2 separate regions of the Homo sapiens genome follow, and region 1 is linked to region 2. Evidence: promoter capture Hi-C in human tissues and cell types (Jung and others, 2019). All regions are on one chromosome and are shown on one strand. Each heading gives the region's core, a stretch centred on a gene start or on the middle of the fragment in contact. The rest is flanking DNA. Distances are from core to core; before and after follow the strand shown.

Region 1 (2,700 bases), core at 201-2,700, 250 kb before region 2:
CTCTCCCTGGTGCAGCAGCTGGGACTCTCCTCCTCAGCAGTGCTTTCCCTTCTTCCCATCCTCTTTCCAGCCAGTAATCTTAAAACTTGAAGGAAAATTAAAAGCCTTCACTTGTGAAAAATTTAGGGAAGGCTTCTTATATACATAAATGAGTGGAGAATAGTTGGTGTCTTCACACCCCTCCTGATACTTACTACTAAGTGTGACTTCCAATTTAATTTTGTATATATCATAGTCATTTTTATCTTCTATTTTAATGTAATGCTTCTCTAAAATGCTTTAGAGCTCTAAATAATTCAAAAGTATAATCACATAGTTCATCTATTATTTGTAATATGCTCTTAATACAGAATTCAGAACTTAGCAGTTTTGTCTTTATAATACCTCAGTGAATAAGAGATAAAAGGGAGACCTTTTGAGCAGCCCTGTATTAGTTATTCATTATGCCATTATGGTATAATGAATAACTCCTTTAAAGAATAATAATTTTACTTAAACTCCTGTGGGGAAACAGCCTGGAGAAATTTGTGAAGCAGGAGATTAGGTTTGATTCTTGTTCCCAGTTCTACCCATGATTTTATGTCTTTTCTGTGCCTGGAGTTTCTCTGCCTTTAACACAAGATGGCCATATATACCTAGGAACTGCATAAGAATTCTTCAAGTCTGTGTCCTAGACACTGAGCTTCTTGAAGAAAGCTTTGAGGTTTATGTAGATTTATTGCTAGCAAAATGGGCAAATATTAAAAACTTTTTTTTGTGGTAAGAGTCTAGTTCTCAACATGAGATGAAGTACTCTTAGTACGAGGTGTCCATGAAATAGTGAAGACACCCATTGGCTTAGCTAGAAATTGCCAAGTAAACCTGGCATAAAGGAGACTAGTAATTATTCATAGGAGCCCACAGAAAAAGTTGTCAAATCAGAGCAGTCAGAGCAGTTTCCTTTGTTCTTTTTTTTTTTTACTCTCTACTGGGCTTTACCTACTCAAACTAAAATAGCGAAAAAACAGTAGTCTAATTATCTGGAGACCTGGATACTTGTTCCAGTTTATAGTCAATCCCAGTATCATTTTGGGATGATTGCTTCATTTAGAAGCTTCACTTTCTTCATCTGTAAAATAGAGGTAACCATCCTGACTAGTCCTGTTTTTCACATCAAAAATATTGTAAAATGAGAAGTGAAAAAGATGCTATACAAATGCAAGGTATTATTAACTGATATTCAAATTGCGAGGGTATGGTTAAGGAGTATTACATGTGATTTTAGAAATTTGAGAAGTCTGATAACACTGGTTCCCAATAGATAGAGGTTCTCAATAGGTAGTTGTCTCAGGTGTTCTAGGGTTCAAATTGTAGGTTTTTCTGCAGATTCTGTTTTGTCTGTATCCCTTTTTTTGGTAAGCGTAAAAGTAAGTGTTCACTGCAGAAATTTTGGAAAATACAGAAAAGTAAAGAAGGAAAGAAAAATTAGCACTTGGCAACAACCATTATATCATTTTGGCTTATTTCATTCTTAACTTCTGTATTGTTATTTATATATGTTTCCCCTTTTTTATAAAATTGGGATCATATGTAGACTCTTGCTTTTTCATTTAGAAGTTAATAGGAAAATATTCACAATAGTCTAAAAAATACTTTAATGACCACATTATACAAATGCATCGTAATTTAAAATATTCCATACTGCCTTTAATTTTTCAATACTATAAACTCTGAACATAAGTCATAAAGAACTAGTGTCACAGAGTGGTTAAAGGTGAGGACTCAGGAGCCAGACTGTCTGGATTTGAATTTTAGCTGGGACACTTAGTATCTGTGTGATCTTGAGCAAGTTACTTAGCTTCTCTGTGCCTCAATGTCCTTATCTGTAAAGTGGAGATAAAAATAGTACCAAGTTCATGGGTCATTAGTTAGATTAATTGGGTATTTATGTAAAGGGCTTAGAATAGTGCCTGGCATGCTTTGTAATAGTGTTGATATTATTATTTGCATCCCTCAATATTGCTTTAAGCTAAACCATAGACTCCATAAAGTGTTTACTTTTCCTTTTCAGAAGATACCATCCCACGAACACAGATAGAAAGAAGGAAAACAAGCCTGTATTTTTCCAGCAAATATAACAAAGAAGGTATCCCTTTCCCAATCAGAACAGCAAATTCTAATTCCATTTTGGGTTTTCAATTCTGATGCACTATGTTTGTTTAGCTCTTAGCCCCCCACGACGTAAAGCCTTTAAGAAATGGACACCTCCTCGGTCACCTTTTAATCTCGTTCAAGAAACACTTTTTCATGATCCATGGAAGCTTCTCATCGCTACTATATTTCTCAATCGGACCTCAGGTTTGGGGATTATTATCATCTTTGTCTTAGTAGAGACAGTGTGGTAGGGAGAAAGCACTGAATTGAGGCCTGGGTTCAAAGTCCATTTTGAGTGTGTCACCTGGGATAGGGCATTCCCCCTTCACCCTTAAACTCTTCACCTATGAGGAAATGAGACTGGATGACATCCAACAGACCTTTTAGAATAAAGAGGTAGATTTTATTTATTTTATACTTCCAAATTCTTTTTGATCATCAGTGAAAATCAGTTAACGTTTCTCCACCCTCTTTCATGTGTGTTTAAAAGTATCTTTTTCACTGAATGTACCTTGTGTTCTATATGCTTCTACTCTCATTATCTGCTGATCTGATCATTTAAAAGCT
Region 2 (6,230 bases), core at 852-3,351:
TGATTGCTACACTATACATTACTTCAAGATACTATGAAGGTTAATCAGATTACAAAGGGGAAATCATAAAGCTGAGTAAGCTTCTTGGTAATAAAACTATATAAATACAAAATACTGTTTTTTATTGGCAGATAATATATCGTGTTTTAGCACAACACATAAGCTGCTAGGCATTTATTCAATCTGATTGGGAATGGGTTAAATTTGGTTAAAAAATTTTACCTTAGGTTGCTTTAATTAAAAAAATGTTTAAGGCTGAGTGCAGTGGCTCACACCTGTAATCCTAGCACTTTGGGGGCACTGGGTGCAGTGGCTCACACCTGTAATCCTAGCACTTTGGCCTAGCACCGCTTGAGGCCAGGAGTTCAAGACCAGCCTGGCCAACATGATGAAACCCCATCTCTACTAAAAATACAAAAATTAGCCAGGCGTGGTGGTGGGCGCCTGCAGTCCCAGCTACTCAGGAGGCTGAGGCAGAATTGGTCAAACATGGGAAGCGGAGGTTGCAGTGAGCTGAGACAGCACTCCAGCCTGGGCAACAGAGGGAGACCCTGTCTCAAAAAATAGTAATAAATAAATTTAAAAAGTTCGGCCAGGCGCGGTGGCTCATGCCTGTAATCCCAGTGCTTTGGGAGGACGATCACCACTTTGGGTGGGCGGATCACCTGAGGTCGGGAGTTTGAGACCAGCCTGACCAACATGGAGAAACCCCGCCTATACTAAAAATACAAAATTAGCCGGGCGTGGTGGCGCATGCCTATAATCCCAGCTACTGGGGAGGCTGAGGCAGGAGAATCACTTGAATCCAGGAGGCGGAGGTTGCAGTGAGCTGAGATCGTGCCATTGCACTCCAGCCTGGGCAACGGAGTGAGACTCCGTTCTCAAAAAAAAAAAAAAGTTTAAAATATCATTGGTCTTTAAAGTTATACATTCATTCTTTGATAATTGCTATGTTGAACGCAACCTCCTAACTGCTTTACAATGATTAAGCACTAATGATTTGAACCCAGGTTTAAAGTCTGACTCTCAACACATGTGCTCTGCCTTCTCACGAACATGATTTCAAAAATCATAGCCCCGGGATTTGGGATTGGTGGCTTATGCCTGTAAACCCAGCGACAGAGCAAGACCCTACTCTTAAAAAAAAAAAAAATTAAAGAAAAAAAGAAAAATAAATCATAGTGTTGAACTGGCAGGTTTCACTGAGACGAAACTTGGGACTCTTCCTTTTTTTTTGTTTCGAATAAAGCCATTCTAGAATGAGACAAAATTCTAAAATATTTTATAGTTAACAGTTTAAATTGGGTTTAATCTTGACAAGACTATCTAGGGCTATATACACAAATCTCTTTTGGAGAAAATACCACAACTAAACTGAAGTCTATTCCTGAATATGACAGACCAGGTCAAATGGTTATCCTTGCCCTCCCGGGGGATGTCACTCATAAACGTGCCAAAAGTCACAGTCTAGGCCCCATTACCTTACATGCTCATGACCTTCCCAGGGAGGCCCCTCGCCCTTACCAGGCACTTTCATCTTGGGAAGACACATCAGTCCTGGCGGAGAAAGCAGCAAGGCCTTTCCCCGGCTCACAAAAATTAATACAAATCTCAGAGGCTGCATCCCACAGCCGTGACCACCGTGACTTGGCATCCCCTTTTCTGCAAACTTAAATGTTATCTAGAAATCGGGCCTGGCTCTGAAAGCCAAGGGCCTGGCAGGAGCCCGAGAAAGGGGAGAAACTTTCTGCGGCCCCAAGCTAATGGCAGTCACTGCACCGAGACCCGTCCCCTGGCATCCCTTTGCTCCAGCTGGCCAAGACAGACCACCAAGGTCAGCCAGATTTCCACCCAGTCTGGCCGGGCCCGGACCCAGCTGGGAATGAACCGAGAAGCACCGGGACCCGGATCCCGGCGTGAAAGGCCGCGCGCGGGGCACGGCGGGAAAAGACGCTGCGCGCAGAAACACCCGCCCCGCGCCGCGCTCTAGTGGGCGGCCCTGCCGCGGGCGGCTCTGATTGGACTGCCGAACCCCGCGCGCTGATTGGCCGCGTGGGCGAGGCGGAGGAGAGCCGTGCGCAGCGGCGTATGTGGGGCCGTGTGCAGACCCGCGTGTGGCGCAGGCAAGGACCCTCAAAATAAACAGCCTCTACCTTGCGAGCCGTCTTCCCCAGGCCTGCGTCCGAGTCTCCGCCGCTGCGGGCCCGCTCCGACGCGGAAGGTGAGGGCTGGGGGAGGGGCCCGGCGCTGACGGAGCCGCAGTGCGGGTCGGGTCTGTGGCGGACAGAGAGGGTAGGGAGCGGCGAGGTGGCGATGGCGGCCGCACTTTGGCCTGCGCCTCTGCTGCGTCAGGCGGGAAGCTCGGCTGCTGCCGCCGCCTCGGACCCGGGTTTCTGGCGCACCGCTGTCGGACGACACTTCTGTCCTTTCTTCGTCCTGGAAAGCTGGGTCGCCGAGCATGCGGGTCTTTCGGCGCCACGGCCGCACCCCAGGCCGCAGGCTTAGGGCAGAGGAGGCCCGCCCGTGCGCCCTTGGGGCCGAGGCCCTGACGCTTCGAGGGTCGCGGAATGAGGGACCGAGGGTGGATTTGGCGGGAACTCACTGGAAGGAGTCCGTGTGGTGGGGAAAGGCTCCCGGCTGCGGATGAAGGGGGGATGGGGTGGGTATAGTCGTGCAGGCCATGTGCTGGGGTCGTGCGCCTGGCGGGCCATGTGCCAAGGGTTTTGGGGGCCTTAGAAAAGGGTTCTTAGGCCGGGCGCGGTGGCTCACGCCTGTAATCCCAGCACTTTGAGAGTCCCAGGCGGGCGGATCACGAGGTCAGGAGTTCGAGACCAGCCTGACCAATATGGTGAAAGTTGGTCTGTACTAAAAATAAAAAATTAGCCGGGCATGGTGGCGGGCGCATGTAGTCCCAGCAGCTCGGGAGGCTGGACAGGAGAATCGCGTGAACCCCGGAGGCCGAGGTTGTGGTGAGCCGAGATCGCGCCACTACACTCCAGCATGGGCAACAGAGAGAGACTCCGTCTTAAAAAAACAAACAAACAAACAAACAAACAACAACAAAGGGTTCCTGAAGAAGCCTTTGTGTTTGGAGTGGCGAGACTGCTGGAAGACTTGGGAGCTTTTAGAGTTTATACTCCCTATCCTTGATAGTTTTCCGATTCTTGAATTTTTATCGTCATTTAAATACTAAGTTGCTTGTGTTACATTACCATTCCAAAAGGGGCTGATGGGGCTCACATTCCAAGAGTTAACACTATTTAAGTTGCTGGGATCCTTTAAAAGCGCCATTACCAGAAAAAACACGAATTTGTCAAACCTCCAAAACCACAGCAGCGGGCGGTAGTCTGCATCATTTCTTGGATTAATGAAACAGATGTAATTACAAACGAGACACGAAATTCAACTAGCTCCCCTCCATCTAGATTTTTCCATATCGTGAGAACCTGTTTTAGAATGGCATAATGGTCCACATTTGGGTTTAGGTGTTGATTTTATTATGGGTAAGGCTTGTGCTTGTTCCCACATGTTAACCATATGGCCTCAGCCACAGGGCACTTCCAAAGGAAGTGACTGTTTCTGGTCTTGGGGGTCTTGTAAAAAGAGAACATTGCTCAGTAATCGTCTGTGATTTTAGCTAGTGTGTTTCAGGCATTATTCAGAAGGACTCAGGTGAGATAAGCCAAAACTGAATTTGTTTTTTGTCTTTCTCAAAGTGAAGGAGGTCTAATGAATATCCCCATCTTGCTTTTAAATTACATTTTTAAAAGTAGATTTTTCCCCCTTTCCTATTGTTTGACCCAATTTTGGAGTGAAACGTAACCAGTTACTATTTCCATTCGAATTTAAATTAGCAATTTTATGTTATTTGTTTGTTCAAGCAGTATAACTGGAGTGTAGAGCTTTGAGGGTTTCAAAAAGATAAGAGATATAGTACTTATCTCCTGGGCTTCCCCCTCCCCCCTCCTAAATAGTTTTAAATGCTTCTAATGAGTTACTCTGGTTAAGGATAATCAAACACCTGTAAACTGCCAGGATCCTAGGTACATGCTGTTTTTAGTTTGTTGAGCCTGATTCTTGTCTACAAGAGTTCTTTGTGTATTGGAATATAAAAGGAATAATTTATTACATTCCCAAGGGCAGAATTAAAGACTTAAGTTTTTCCGATTTCATCTCTTGATAAGTTTTTCTTTAAAAAAATAACAGTTTGTGTTTTTCTGAGGAACCAAAGGTCCTCTTTTTTTTCATATTGGTAACAGGAGAGGTAATGTATTTCAGATGGTGCAGTCTGTAAAATATTTTGAACCAAATCAGTGGAAGACCAGGGGTTTTTCTTTTTTTTTTTCTGAGACGGAGTCTCACTCTGTCGCCCAAGCTGGAGTGCAGTGGCGCGATCTCGGCTCACTGCGACCTCCGCCTCCCGGATTAAGCGATTCTCCTGCCTCAGCCTCCGAAGTAGCTGGGATTACAGGCGCCCGCCGCCACACCCAGCTAGTTTTTGTATTTTAGTACAGACGGGGTTTCACCATGTTGGCCAGGCTGGTCTCGAACTCCTGACCTTGTGATCCGACTCCCTCGGCCTCTCAAAGTGCTAGGATTACAGGCAGGAGCCACCGCGCCTGGCCAGGTTTTTCTTAAACTGGCATTTGAACATCTGGAACAGGCAGGGAGATGTCTTTTTTAAAGTATAAATGTGTTTTGTTACATGATTTATGACAATTCTACTTGTCTTTTTTTTTTTTTTTTTTTTTTTTTTTGAGACAGAGTCTTTCTCTGTCGGCCAGGCTGGAATGCAGTGGCACAGTCTCGGCTCACAGCAGCCTCCATCTCCCGGGCTCAAGCAATTCTCCTGCCTCAGCCTCCCAAGTAGCTGGGATTACAGGCGTGTGCCACCACGCCCGGCTAATTTTTGTATTTTTTGTAGAGACGGGGTTTCACCATGTTGGCCAGGCTGGTCTTGATCTCCTGACCTCAGGTAATTCACCCGCCTCGGCCTCCCAAAGTGCTGGGATTACAGGCCTGAGCCACCGTGCCTTGCCAACAATTCTACTTGTCTTTTAAAGTTCAATAAAAATATGTGGCACGTATATGGGATAGTACCAAACTGGTGCCTAAAAGCAGTGAAACCACCATTGGACTAATTGGAATGATTTGTCTATTGGCTGAAGATTTGACCACAGAGAGATTCTGCTTTTTTTTCCTTGCAGGGATGAAAAATTAAAAAAAAAAAAAAAGATTGGTTCCTTTTTCTCTTCCTAGCCTCCTGACAGTAAGTAGAGAGCCAGAAGAATGATGCCAAGGCATCCTGGCCTGCTATGTGGAGAACGCTCTTTCCTTACTGTCTCACTTAATAGAACTCCTGTTCTGGCAGTGTCAGATGCTGCAGCAGCAAGGGAATGCCATTGAGTGATTGCAGTAAGCTATGCAGCATTTTCATGTTTAAAACTACTGAGATAATAAAGTGAGAACTTGAGGCCACCAAATTTTAAGTTGTAATTAGAAGGATTTTGTTAATTAGGAATATGAGAGTGCTACAGTGATCACCTGGAATGGCTCCATAAATACAAATGAGGTGTTAACTAGTGAAGCAAGTTGCCAGTGTTTGTGTGTTTGGTGAGACTCCTAAGTTCTGCCATGAAGTTAAAGAAAATATTTTTTAAGATTCAAGAAAGCTGTGTGAATGAATTCAAAATTATTATGACTGTAGATCTTTTAAAAAGCTATCAGTATTAGTTTTACTTTGATTTTTATCTAAAGAGAAATACAGAATGAATACTTACAGCATTACAATTCAAATGTGCGTGGCTTTTTTTTTTCTTAGTTACTAGATATATAGTAGTAATACCTTTATGTAATATTTTGAAGTAGAGATTGAATTGGTATAATTCCCTACCTTAAAAATATTACACAATAGCATTTTTGTCATATATTACGATAGCATTTTTGTGTACTTTACCACTTAACTTTTTTTTTCCTTTTCTTTTTTTTTTGGAGACAAAGTCTTGCTCTGTCGCCCAGGCGGGAGTGCAATGGCAGGATCTCAGCTCACTGCAACCTCTGCCTCCTGGGTTTAAGCCATTCTCCTGCCTCAGCCTCCTGAGTAGCTGGGACTATAGGCGTGTGCCACCACGCCCGGCTAATTTTTGTTTTTTTAGTTTTTTTTGGAGACGGAGTCTCGCTTTGTCACCCACACTGGAGTGCAAATGGCATGATCTCGGCTCACTGCAGCC

What was found. The method cuts DNA at HindIII sites, captures the fragments that hold promoters and counts their contacts. A contact is called where the count stands out against the background at its distance.
Region 1: a fragment that was not itself captured here is called in contact with the fragment with the promoter of CNBP in region 2 in 1 of the 25 tissues and cell types used here (aorta).

What each region holds. Positions count from the first base shown.
Region 1 is chr3:129,433,487-129,436,186 of GRCh38, reverse strand. MBD4 (methyl-CpG binding domain 4, DNA glycosylase) reads left to right here. Exons shown (of 8, transcript NM_001276270.2): 4 at 2,051-2,125; 5 at 2,203-2,337. Among named protein-coding and RNA genes, the nearest start is that of MBD4, 5.1 kb to the left of the region's middle. The HindIII fragment of the contact is 4,141 bases long and covers 1-2,700 here.
Region 2 is chr3:129,179,767-129,185,996 of GRCh38, reverse strand. It overlaps CNBP (CCHC-type zinc finger nucleic acid binding protein), which reads left to right and starts at 2,101. Exons shown (of 5, transcript NM_003418.5): 1 at 2,101-2,221. LOC105374101 (a long non-coding RNA gene) reads right to left here and starts at 1,923. Exons shown (of 2, transcript XR_924469.3): 1 at 1,525-1,923. RefSeq lists an enhancer at 1,678-1,767. The HindIII fragment of the contact is 21,375 bases long and covers 1-6,230 here.